Regions from separate parts of the Homo sapiens genome. Here region 2 is linked to region 1. Evidence: promoter capture Hi-C in 16 types of primary human blood cells and fetal thymus (Javierre and others, 2016). All regions are on one chromosome and are shown on one strand. The core of a region is centred on a gene start or on the middle of the fragment in contact, and the rest is flanking DNA. Distances in the headings are between cores, read along the strand shown.

Region 1 (6,325 bases), core at 2,010-4,509:
TTACAGGCGTGAGCCACAGCACTTGGCCAATTATTTTTTATATTTTGTAGAGACGGGGGTCTCACTATGTTGCCCAGCTGGTCTCGAACTCCAGGGCTCAAGGGATCCTCCCACCTCGGCCTCCCAAAATGCAGGGACTACAGGTGTGACACAGTGTGCCCTGCCAAGCCTGGGAGATCTGAGAGGGAGGGGTTGGGAGGTTGAGGGGGGTGGGGGCTGGGACTCCCACAGGAGTGAGAGAGGGGCTGGTCTCACTTGGTCCTGGGCTAGGAGGTCTCCCACTGTGTTCAATAGCTTGTAAAACACCTCGAACCAAGGCAGGTGGCTGTGGAGAGAGGAGACAGGTTCCACGAAGTGTCCCTAGGCCTCGGCCTTTCCCATCCCCCCCTCCAACCCCCATATCCCGCACCTGAGGATGCAGAGACAGCTCTGGGTACCCGCCCGCAGGCGGCAGAAACCAAATCTGCGGTTGCCGGCAAGGTCTGTGAGGGCGAAGGTGAAATGCTGCACGGCGGGGCTGGGGGGCTCCCTGGAGTGGGAAGGGCTGTTAGAGAGACCTGGACATCCCAGCTGTCTGAGGATGTCCCCGCTCCCCAACAAAGCTCCTAGGACCCTGAGTGTATGGGTCTCTAGTTGTCAGGATCCCTGAATGTCTGGATCCCTGGGTCTCAGAATCCCTGGGTCCCTGAATCTCTGGGTCCCTGGATCTCTGGGTCCCTGAGTCCCTGGGTCCCTGGATCTCTGGGTTTCTGGATCTCTGGGTCCTTGAATCCCTAAGTCCCTGGGTTCCTCAGTCCCTGAGTCCCTGAGTCCCTGAGTCCCTGGTCCCTGAGTTTCTGAGTCTCTGGGTTCCGAAGTCCCTGAATCCTTGTGTCCCTGAGTCCTTGAGTCTCTGAGTCCCTGGGTCCCTGGGTCCCTGGGTTCCTGAGTCCCTAGATCTCTGGGTCCCTGAGTGTCTGAGTCCCTGGATGCTAATGTATATAGGTCCCTAGTTCTCAGGGCCCCTGAGTGTCTGAGTCTCTGAGTCTCAGGGTCCTCGAGTGTATGGGTTTCCAGATGTCTGAGTCTCTAGGTGTTGAGTCCTTGGGGCCCCTGAGAGATCTGAGTCCCTGAGTCCTTGGATCTCCCCGCCCTTCCGTACCTTTCCACATCAAAAGGGAAGCAGAATTTAGGCACCATCTGCATAGCTTCCTGGAGGTGAAGAAAAGCGCAGACTGCTTGGCCACTGAGGTCGGGCACCACCTCCCTGGGCTCCAGGTCCAAGAAACCAAGTCCCCTCCCCCTGGGAGACTGGCCCTCGCCCTGGGGGAGCAAGGAGCCAGCCTGAATACCTGGTCCCTGAAGTCTGGAGGGAACTGCCGCAGGATGGGGGGATCTGTAGAAGAGAGCACGCCTCTAAGTTCAGCGACCCAGGCCCACCCTCCCCTCCCACTCCCTCACTCCCAGGCTCCCAACTCACCCTCCTGCAGGGAGGCAGGGCAGGCCGCTTCGAAGAACCAATCAAACACAGCAGGGGAGCCCCCTCTGTGGGATGCAGAAGGGGTCCAGAGACTTGCTTCTATGCATGTGTGGTTGTGTCTGCCACTTTGCACACAAGTGTGGTTGTGTGTGCATGTGCCACAAGGTGCGTCGGCATGTGCATGACTCTGGGGGTTTGTGGCTGTGAGTGTGTGGTTGTGTGAGGCTGTGTGTGCAGCAGTGTTAATTGAACACACAAGTACAGGATGGAGTGAGAAAGTGTGACTGTGTGTGTGTGGCTGTGTATGATTGTGTGTGGCTGAGTGCATGGCTTTTGTGAGCAGGCAGTGTGTGTGTGATCCTGTCTGCTGTCTGCCTGAAAAGATGAGACTGTCTCCTATATCTGTGGCATGAGACTGCACAGATATGAAGGACAGCCCGTGCAGTCCCAAGCTAAGTGAATTACATCTCTCTCTCTCTATATATATATCCATCTATCTGTCTGTCTGTCTGTCTCTGTCTATCCATCCATCCATCCATCCACCCACCCACCCACCTATCCATCCACCCACCCACCTATCTATCTATCTATCTATCTATCTATCTATCTATCTATCTATCTATCTATCTATTTTTTTGAGATGGAGTTTTGCTTTGTCACCCAGGCTGGAGTACAGTGGCACGATCTTGGCTCACTGCAACCTCCACCCCACAGGTTCAAGCGATTCTCCTGCCTCAGCCTCCCTGTAGCTGGGATTACAGGTGCCCGCCACCACGCCCAGCTAATTTTCATATTTTTAGTAGAGACAGGGTTTCACATACTGGCCAGGCTGTTCTCAAACTCCTGACCTCAGGTGATCTGCCCGCCTCAGCCTCCCAAATTGCTGGGATTACAGGCTTGAGTCACTGCATCTAGCCATGCCATCTATATTTTCTTGTATAGATGTGAGTGTGTGTGCCCGAGCAAGTGAATGACATCTATATTTTCCTGTACAGCTGTGAGTGTCACTGGGTAACCGCGTGGGATCCTTGTGGGCTGGCTGTGTGTCTCTGTGTGTGAGACCCCATAGAACCCTCGTGGCTGGTCCCACATGTCTCATCAGAGAAAGGAGGGCAGGATACCTAGGTACTTACTGTAAGCCCTGCAATCTCTGCTTTCCTCCTCTGCCCCCATATCAAGCAGAAGAGGCAGCCTTGGGCTCAAGGAGAGAGACAGGGAGATCTAGAGGGAGATCAGCTGCACACACACTGTCCCGCCCAGTTGCACACACAGTCCCCACCATGGGTACCCCAGCACTTCACCCTCACGCCGACACAAGTCACACACGATCACCCACTCATACCAACACCCAGCCTCCCCTCTGCCCTGATCATCCGCCCTGTGGACCCCCTGAAGCCATCACTCAGACATACCAAGGACAAAGCTCAGAGGGGTACATGCATTCACAGAGCTATAGACATAATCACAGGAGCTGGATAGAGAGAGAGAGAGAGAGAGAGAGGAGGGGACCGAGAGTGGCCTGTCCCAGAGTGAAGGTCATAGCGGAGGCCCATGGAGTATCTGATTCCAGCCACCTGCCCTGGCAGGTCACTGCACCTCCCGGGCCTGCTCCAGCCCCAGCTCCCCTCTGCCCCGGCTCAGGCCTGGCCCGGGAATCTTGTACCAGAGAATGAGGGATGGGGTGGCTCTTACTCAGCTCTGGATTCCATGGTCCCTGCAGGGCCAGCCCAGCGGGGCCCTCTCCCCAGGGGTCCTGGGGGCCTGTGTATGCTGGGCCCCAAGCCGGCTCAGCTTCCTGTGTGGCTGAGAGAGGAAGTTTAACGGGTGACGTCCCCGGACAGAGGCCCTGCCCCCACCCCCGTGAGAAACCCAGGCATCCTGCCTGCTAATTATGTTGGGGATGGGTGGGCAATAAGTGGTCAGCCTGGGAAGGCAGACCCCCAGCTCCGTCCCCGCCAGGCTGGACTGTGTCTGGTTCCCCCCATCGTGCCTGGGCCCTCATCTCTCCTTCCCCGCTCCGCAGCAGCCAAGATTCACAGTCTGTCTATTAATGAAATGCCTCCCCGTCTCTTTCCCTTGGTCCATTTGGCCTGGACGGTCACTGGTGGACCACCAGAGGGAGCCACCTGTAAAGTGGACGGTGGGGGGGCCAGGGATGGGGACAAAGAGCACGAAGTACAGGCACAGGGACGGACAGACAGACACAGACACAGACAGTTACACGCTCAGGAAGTCATCAGCACAGACAAACCGAGTGCAGAAGAGCCAGAGACGACAGACATGGAGAGATAGGGAGTCCTACAGCTGGATCATAGTCCCAGGCCGGGCACAGTGGCTCACGCCTATAATCCCAGCACTTTGAGAGGCCAAGGTGGGAGGACCGCTTGAGCCCAGGAGTTCGAGACCAGCCTGGGAAACATGGCGAAACCCTGTGTCTATAAAAGCTACAAAAATTATAGCTGGCGGTGGTGGCACGCACCTATAGTCCCAGCTTACCCAGGAGGCTGAGTCAGGAGGATCGCCTGAGCCTGGGGAGTTTGAGGCCATAGTGAACCAAGATTGCACTACTGTACTCCAGCCTGAGCAACAAAGTGAGATCCTGTCTCAAAAAAAAAAAAAAACAACTTAGTCACAGTTACACACCCATTGTGCGCAGAAAGACAAGGTAAGCGGATCACTTGAGGTCAGGAGTTTGCAACCAGCCTGGCCAACATGGTGAAACCCTGTCTCTAATTAAAAAAAAATACAGGCCAGGTGCGGTGGCTCACATCTGTAATCCCAGCACTTTGGGAGGCTGAGGCAGGTGGATCACGAGGTCAGGAGTTCGAGACCAGCCTGGCCAAGATGGTGAAACCCAGTCTCTACTAAAAATACAAAGATTAGCCAGGCACGGTGGTGGGCATCTGTAATCCCAGTTACTCAGGAGGCTGAGGCAGAATTATTTGAACCTGGGAGGCGGAGTTTGCAGTGAGCCGATATCGCGCCGCTGTACTCTAGCCTGGGCGACAGAGCAGGACTCTGTCTCAAAAAATCAAAAACAAACAAACAAACAAAAAATTAGCTGGGCATGGTGGCATGTGCCTGTAATCCCAGCTGCTTGGGAGGCTGAAGCAGGAGAATCACTTGAATCCGGGAGGCAGAGGTTGCAGTGAGCCGAGATCGTGCCACTGCACTCCAGCCTGGGTGAAAGAGTGAGACTCCATCTCAAAAACAAAAACAAAAACAAAGCAAACAAACAAACAAACAAATGCAGAGACAGACAGAGACACAATAAACAGTTACACAGAGACCACAGCCATTGATACAAACAGAATAACAGAGAAATAGACCCAGATAGATGGAAACACAGCACAGACATAGCTCAAGTAATAACCAGATATAGTTATAGCCAAGACCCGGCCACATGCAGAGAGAGACACAGCTGGACTCACATGACAGCCAGATACTCATGACAGCCCGACACACTCAAGCCGTGCTGCAGACTATGAAAGACACAGGGGCTGGAGGCAGTGGCTCAGTAATCCCAGCACCTTGGGAGGCTGAGGTAGGATTGTTTGAGGCCAGGAGTTAAAGATCAGCCTGAGCAATATAACAAGACCCCATCTTTACAAAAATTAAAACTTTAGCCAGGTGCAGTAGTCCCAGCTATTCTGTAGGCTGAGGCGGGAGGATCCCTTGAGCCCAGGTGGTGGGGGTTGTAGTGAGCTGTGATCGTGCCATTGCACTCCAGCCTGGGCAACGGTGTAAGACCCTATCTCCAAACAAACACAGGAACAAACAAAAACAACAAAAAAGACACAGGCACACAGGTGGACAGACGTAGTCATGTTGAGACAGGATATGTGAACATATCTGCAGGCACAAAAACAGAACATGATATAGTCAGGGTCACACCTACACATGAAATCCTGCCAACAGACTCAGACCACTGTGTGGTGTGAAAACACCTCGTGGCCGGGTGCGGTGGCTCACACCTGTAATCCCAGCACTTTGGGAGGCCGAGGTGGGCGGGTCACCTGAGGTCGGGAGTTTGAGACCAGCATGGGCAACTTGGAGAAACCCCGTCTCTACTAAAGATACAAAATTAGCCGGGTGTGGTGGTGACACATACTTGTAATCCTAGCTACTCAGGGGGCTGAGGCAGGAGAATTGCTTGAACATGGGAGGCGGAGGCTGTGGTGAGCCAAGATCGTGCCATTGCACTCCAGCCTGGGCATCAAGAGCAAAACTCCATCAAAAAAAAAAAAAAGAAGAAGAAGAAGAAGACACCTCGTACCCACAGTCACTGGACACATACAGAGTCAGAATCCCGTCAGCCACATCCTCACACAGTCTGATGGACATGTGCTATTGTCCGAATATGTGTCCCTCCAAAATTCGTATGTTGAAACCTAAAGCCCCAAGGCAGTAGTAAGAGGAGCCGAGATTGCGCCATTGCACTCCAGCCTGGGCAACAAGAGTGAAACTCCGTCTCAAAAAAAAAAAAAAAAAATAGGTGAGGCCTCTGGGAGGTGATGAGGTCAAGAGGTATCCACCCTCAACAGTGGGATTAATGCCTTTATAAAAGAGGCTTGAGGCCCAGTGCGGTGGCTCTGGCAGGGTGCAGTGGTTCACACCTGTAATCCTAGCACTCTGGGAGGCTGAGGGGGGTGGATTGCTTGAGGCAGAAGTTTGAGACCAGCCTGGGCAGCATGGTGAAACCCCGTCTCTACAAAAAATACAGAAATTAGCTGGGCATGGTGGTGTGCACCTGTAGTCCCAGCTACTTGGGAGGCTGAGTGGGAGGATTGTTTGAACCCAGGAGGCAGAGGTTGCAGTGAGTGAAGATTGCACCACTGCACTGCAGCATGGGCAGCAGAGAGAGAC
Region 2 (6,325 bases), core at 1,967-4,466, 410 kb after region 1:
TTGCTAGAATCCTTGTCTGAGGGTCTGCCCTTGTGAGACCCTAAGATGTTACCAGAGAGAGTTAGGAAGCTGGGAATGGGGTGGAAGTGTTGCTGTATAATCGTCAGACAGAGTTGAGATCTGAAGGAAAATAAGATGGTTAAAGCTCTTGACTCTGGAATCAGAGGGTCCTGGGTTCAAATCTCAAGTCTGAGAGATCTTGGACAAGTTATAACTCCTCTGCAAGTCTCAGTTTCCATTTTGTTGGTGAATAGAGGGAGGGAGGGGAATTCCTACTTTACAAGGTTAACATGATAATGAAATTACACTTTGTTGCCAATGTGCCTAGCACACTGCCTGGTACATGATGGTTGTGATGGCTGTCTTTATACGGGAGACTGGGAAGAGACCCTAAAGGCTGAGATTTGCTTCACTGGAGGCAGGAAGCGGAAGCTCCTTTATTGGGTGCAATGAAAGAAGGTGTTGAGAGATGGGAGATAGATGTTGATGGGAAAGAAAAAGGGAGAGACCATGGGAAGGAGAGAGAGAGAGAATGATATACATTAGGCAGATTAACTTCTCTTTATTGTGAAGAAAGGGGGAAATTAGGATTTTCTAGGCTGTCTTTTAGTTGCAGCAAGTCAGCAAAAAGGGCTATGATGACCAGGCAGCATTGAGCAACTCTGACTCCGCCTTCCCCTCTTCGCACACCTTCTGGTTACTGAAAACCCAGCGTTAGTAGAAAAGTTTCTTTTCTTTGAATGACAGAACTACAGCATAATGCGTGGCTTCAACCTGCTCCTCTTCTGGGGTGAGTGTGAGGCTGAATGGGGGGCTAGGGGAGGCCTGGATTGGAAATAGACTTCAGGAGAAATGGGAGGGCCATGGATGGTCCAGCCAAGAGATCATAAGTCCAGACTGGATGCTGCAAACACCTTCATTCAGGGAACCTTTGACAAAATTCCATAGCTCAGGGAAGTCCATCTGTTAGGATAGATTTTTCTCTATAGTCATTCATTTGACCTGAGCAAGTCCTGTGTGTCAGGTGCTGTTCTAGGCACTAGAGGATATAGCAGTGAGAAAAAAAGACTAAGTTCCTGCACTCTTGAGGCTGATATTCTAGTGGGTAGGAGCAGACAGGAAAGAAGGCACAGATGATCATAGCCCACTTAGCACTGCTGTAACTTCTTTAAACATAGAGTGTATCCAATTGTCACAACATTTCTATGACATTGGGTCATTATTAGTCCTATTTTGCAAATGAGAAAACTGAGGCAAAAGAGATAAAATAATTTTCCCAAGGCCACTTAGTCAATAAGGGGTAGAGGCAGGATTTCAAGCCAGACAGTCTGACTTCAGAGTCTGTAAGCTTTTCCACTATACTATGTTGCCCCAAAAAATAAGTAAACATAGGAATTTCAGGTAGTGATAAGTGCTATGAAAGAAGTTGTTATAGAATGTGGTCGGGAGTTATGTTGAAGGGAGAAGTCTGGGGTTGAGGAGGGGCAGTTCGAGCTGAGTCCTGAAGGATGAGATAGACCCTTCCTGTGCTCTTATTTCTCTTTCTTCAGGTGTCAGTTTGTCTCAGCCTTGTTTATCTTCTGTGTTTCTGGTTTTTCTTCTATGTCTTGTGTGTTTTGGTCATTGGATCAAATTTAAGAATGGAGGATATTGGGGACATATTCTAAGTAGCAAGTATGGGTTTCCTCTGCTGTTGAAGAGTGGATCTGAATACCCTATTTTACCAAGGAGGAAACTGAGGCACAAAGAGATTAAATAACTTCCTCAAGGCCACGCAATCATTAATTGGTGAAGCCAGATTTTTAAACCTAAGCACTTTGACTTCAGACTTTGTATGCCTAAACAGCATGCTGAATTACCTCTAAAATAATTAATGAATGAGTAGAAGAATTTTTGTTAGTAATAATAGATAGAATTTGGGAGTTTAGATCTGTGGGACTTGTTGACTGGCAGGCTACATTAGAAGAAATAGGTGGCCTGTGGACATCAAATGTAGGCATGCAGAGTTGTTATTTTGGGGTGTTGGCAATGGTATTAACCATTAACACTCCCTATTCTGCCCTGAAGATAATCAGCAAAGAGTTGTGATAATGATAGTGATGATAATGATCATGATGGTGGTGGTTATAATAGTGATGATGAAAATGGTGATGATGATGGTGATGGTGATGATGATGATGATGATAATGGTGATGATAGTGATAATGAAGATGATGGTGATGATGATGGTGTGATAATGACCATGAAGATGGTGATGATGGTGATGATGATAATGGTGATGATAGGGATAATGATGATGATGGTGGTGATGATGGTGTGATAATGACGATGAAGATGGTGATGTTGGTGATTATGGTGGTGATGATGATGATGGTGGTGATGGTGATAATGGTGATGGTGATGATGATAATGGTGATGATGGTGATAATAATGATGATGATGATGGTGATGATGAAGATGATGATGGTGATGATGATAGTGATAATGATGGCGATAATGATGATGGTGCAGGAGACCTAAATGCTGCAGGGCTGCATTGCCTTTAAACACTAAAAAATGGGCAGGGCGCAGTGGCTCACGCTTGTAATCCCAGCACTTTAGGAGGCTGAGGCAGGCAGATCATGAGGTCAGGAGATCGAGACCATCCTGGCCAACATGGAGAAACCCCGTTTCTACTAAAAATGCAAAAATTAGCTGGGCGTGGTGGTGCGTGCTTGTAATCCCAGCTACTCGGGAGGCTGAGGCAGGAGAATAGCTTGAACCAGGGAGTTGGTGGTTGCAGTGAGCCTAGATCACGCTACTGCACTCCAGCCTGGTGACAGAGTGAGACTCCATCTCAAAAAAAAAAAAAAAAAAAAAAAGGAAAGAAAAACGAATTGCCCTACCCTCTCATGAAATGTTAATACTACAGATATACTGTATACCTATATATGTATTTTCTATATATACATATGTATCTTATACATAAAAGAGTAAGCTTAAAAAGATCTCTTCCTGAGAACCAAGTTTGGGTCCTTAGAGGATATATCACCCCTTTTGAGAATGCATGCTTTAATGTATGTTTTTGAAAATCAGCTAGAACTTTTTTTTTTAGACAGGGTCACCTAGGCTGGAGCGCAGTGGCATGATCTTGGCTCACTGCAGTCTCTATCTCCTGGGCTCAAGCAATCCTTCCACCTCAGCCTCCTGAGTAGCTGGGGCTACAAGTTGTCACCACCACCCAGCTAATTTAAAAAATTTTTTTTTTGTAGAGACAAAGTCTCACTGTGTTGTCCAGGCCGGTGTCAAACTGCTGGTCTCAAGTGATCCTCCCACCTTGGCCTCCCGAAGGGCTGGGATTATAGGTGTGCACCACAGTGCTTAGCCTGGAACTATTTAATCAAAAAGAAAAAGAAGATAAAGACAGACAAAATGAAAAGCAAAAGCAAAGTACAGAAAACCAGGAATGGTCATTGTTAAGCTTATGCAAAATAGTGTATGTTTGTTCCTTAACTAGGTTTGTCATCTAGCCTCTTCAAACCTATTTCTGTGGGGCCAAGCCAGGAGTAATTTTGCAGGTTGAGCCCAAAAGGTTTTTTTTTTTTTTTTTTTTTTTGGTGGTTCATGGTGTTTTTCTTTTCTTTCTTCACAGGATGTTGTGTTATGCACAGCTGGGAAGGGCACATAAGACCCACACGGAAACCAAACACAAAGGGTAAGTTGGCCAGAGAGAATGCAGATGCCTGAAGGGGTAGAGAAAGTTTTCTCCCCGGGGAAACATCCCAGGAAGCTGAGCCTCATCCAGATGCTTGCTGGGAGCTAGTTAGCGGCAGAGCAAGGGTTAACATGCAAGTCTCCTGATTCTCACTTCAGGCTCTTTCCTTTGTGCTTAGAATTGCTGTGTGATCTCAGATAAGTCACATAACCTCTCTGAACTTCAGTTTCCCAAGCTGTGAAATACAGATAACAATAGGGATGTTGTGAAACTTTAATTCAAAGAGGTAGCTTTGGAAACCACCTGGTATGTAGTATGAGCTTTATAAATGGTAGTGTAGTGAGAGTAGGGATGGAATTTACTCAAACTACAACTCAATGTGCAAAAAAAAAGTGACTTCTTTATGTTTTGTTAAATACTCTCATCTACATAAACTCTTGCTGGATAAAGGAAGAAAGACATTGTCAGTTCGTAGTTGTTGATATGGTTTGGCTATGTCCTCACCCAAATCTCACCTTAAATTGTAAGAATCCCCACGTGTCAAGGGCGGGGCCAGTTGGAGATAATTGAATCATGGGGGATGGTTTCCCCCATACTGTTCTCGTGGTAGTGAGTAAGTCTCACGAGATCTGATGGTTTTATAAATGGGAGATCCCCGCACAAGCTCTCTTGCCTCCTGCCATGTAAGTAAGACATAATTTTGCTCCTCATGATTGTGAAGCCTCCCCAGCCATGTGCAACAGTGAGTCAAATTAAACCTCGTTCCCTTATAAATTACCTAGTCTCGGGTATGTCTTTATTAGCAGCATGAAAACAGACTAATACAACTGTTCCCAGTGTCTCTGTTTCCTGGTTCTTCTTTGGGCAACTTAGCAACTTGGTCTATATTGTGTTAACAGCTCATCTTTCACATTTTTTTTTTTTTTTTGAGATAGATTCTCGCTCTGTTGCCCAGGCTGGAGTGCAGTGGTGCGATCTCGGTTCACTGCAAGCTCCGCCTTCCAGGTTCACGCCATTCTCCTGCCTCAGCCTCCCGAGTAGCTGGGACTACAGGCGCCCGCCACCACGCCTGGCTAATTTTTTTGTATTTTTAGTAGAGACGGGGTTTCACTAGAAACCAGGCTGGTCTTGAACTCCTTAGGTGATCTGCTCACCCCAGCCTTCCGAAGTGCTGGGATTACAGGCATGAGCCACTGCGCCTGGCCCCTTTGTAGGACTTTTTCAAAAGGGCTTTATTGAGATGGTTGGGAAAATTTTCTCAAGGAAGTGATGTTCCAGTGGACTTAAAGGATGGATGAATTGATGTTACCCAGGCAAAGGGGCAGGGTGGGATAGGGCATGTCTGGTGGCCAGAACGGTGGGTGCAAAGGTCCTGAGGTTGGAAAGAATTTGGAGGACCGAGCGAAGGTGAGTGTGACTGATGACACAGGGCAGGAGATGAGATGGGGAGGTGGACAGGTACCTAGTCCCACAAGACCGGGTTGTTACTCTGACCTTGGTGGGTTTCAGTTGTGAGGGAGAGGGCTAGTGGAAGAGAATGATGGGAAACTTACAGCATTAAGAGACCACAAGTGATAAAATGCCGGAAGTCTGCATAGAGAAATGTTGCCTCTACAGATGAAAGAGGAAGCTGGAAATGAGAAGAGAGATACCATCTGAGGCCTCATGCAGGGAAGGGAAATAAACAAGGCACATTATAGGAGCAAAGAACGTAGATCTCAAAACCAAATGTGTAACAAAAACAGGGTGAATAATGTCACAATCACGATAATCCATTCCTTCTGTTTTTATGATACTTTTTAGTTTTTCCATACTCCTAATTGATGTTGGCATTATCGTTGGTTCCTCTCTTTTCACTCCTCACATCCAATCCATCGGCAAATTTTGTTAGTGTTGCTTTAAAAAAATCCTGAATTGCATTCCCTTCATTGATTCCCTCTGGGTTGTATCTACTGACATCTTTCACCTGGACAAGTGCAGTCACCCCCTCCTTGGTCAGTTTATTTCTGATCTTCTATAGTTCGTCTTCCAACCAGTGGCCAGAAGGCTCATGTTAAAACCTTATGTTGTGTCCCTACTCTGCTCGAAATCCTCCCATGACTCCCATCTTTCTTTGATAAAAAACCCAACTCCACTATTCACAATAGTCAAGATATGGAATCCACCTCAGTGTCCGTCAACAGATGAATGGTTGAACTCAATGTGGTCTGCATACACAACGGATTGCTATTCGGCCATAAAAAGAATGACATTCCACAATTTGCAGCAACATGGATGAAACTGGAGGTCATTAAGTGAAACAAACCAGGCACAGAAAGACAAATGTCACATGTCCTGACTCATAGGTAGTTGCCCTACTGTGCTACTGAGCACTCGATCTCATTCCTTCCATCTAACTGTGGTTTTTGTACCAACCAGTCAATCCCTCTTTATCCCCCTTCCCCACTATCCTTTCCAGCCTCTGGTAATTGTCATTCTGCTCTCTACCTCCATTAGATAATGATGATGATGATTTTTAGCTCCCACGTAGGAACGAGAACATGCAATATTTGTCTTTCTGTGTCTGGTTTATTTCACTTAACATAATGTCCTCCAGTCCTCCAGTTCCATCCATGTTTCTGCAAAGGATGG

The links. Contacts are between HindIII fragments. The CHiCAGO score rates a contact against its expected background, and 5 or more counts as called.
Region 2: a contact is called between a fragment that was not itself captured here and the fragment with the promoter of DENND1C in region 1, in 1 of 17 cell types (activated CD4 T cells). The highest score is 7.7, in activated CD4 T cells.

The regions. Positions count from the first base shown.
Region 1 is chr19:6,478,528-6,484,852 of GRCh38, forward strand. It overlaps DENND1C (DENN domain containing 1C), which reads right to left and starts at 3,260. Exons shown (of 23, transcript NM_024898.4): 1 at 3,152-3,260; 2 at 1,460-1,524; 3 at 1,332-1,375; 4 at 1,142-1,191; 5 at 410-529; 6 at 256-325. The coding sequence starts at 3,168. RefSeq lists enhancers at 1,355-1,854, 3,451-3,745. The HindIII fragment of the contact is 23,241 bases long and covers 1-6,325 here.
Region 2 is chr19:6,886,850-6,893,174 of GRCh38, forward strand. It overlaps ADGRE1 (adhesion G protein-coupled receptor E1), which reads left to right and starts at 730. Exons shown (of 21, transcript NM_001974.5): 1 at 730-790; 2 at 3,632-3,694. The coding sequence starts at 760. RefSeq lists an enhancer at 724-783. The HindIII fragment of the contact is 483 bases long and covers 2,976-3,458 here.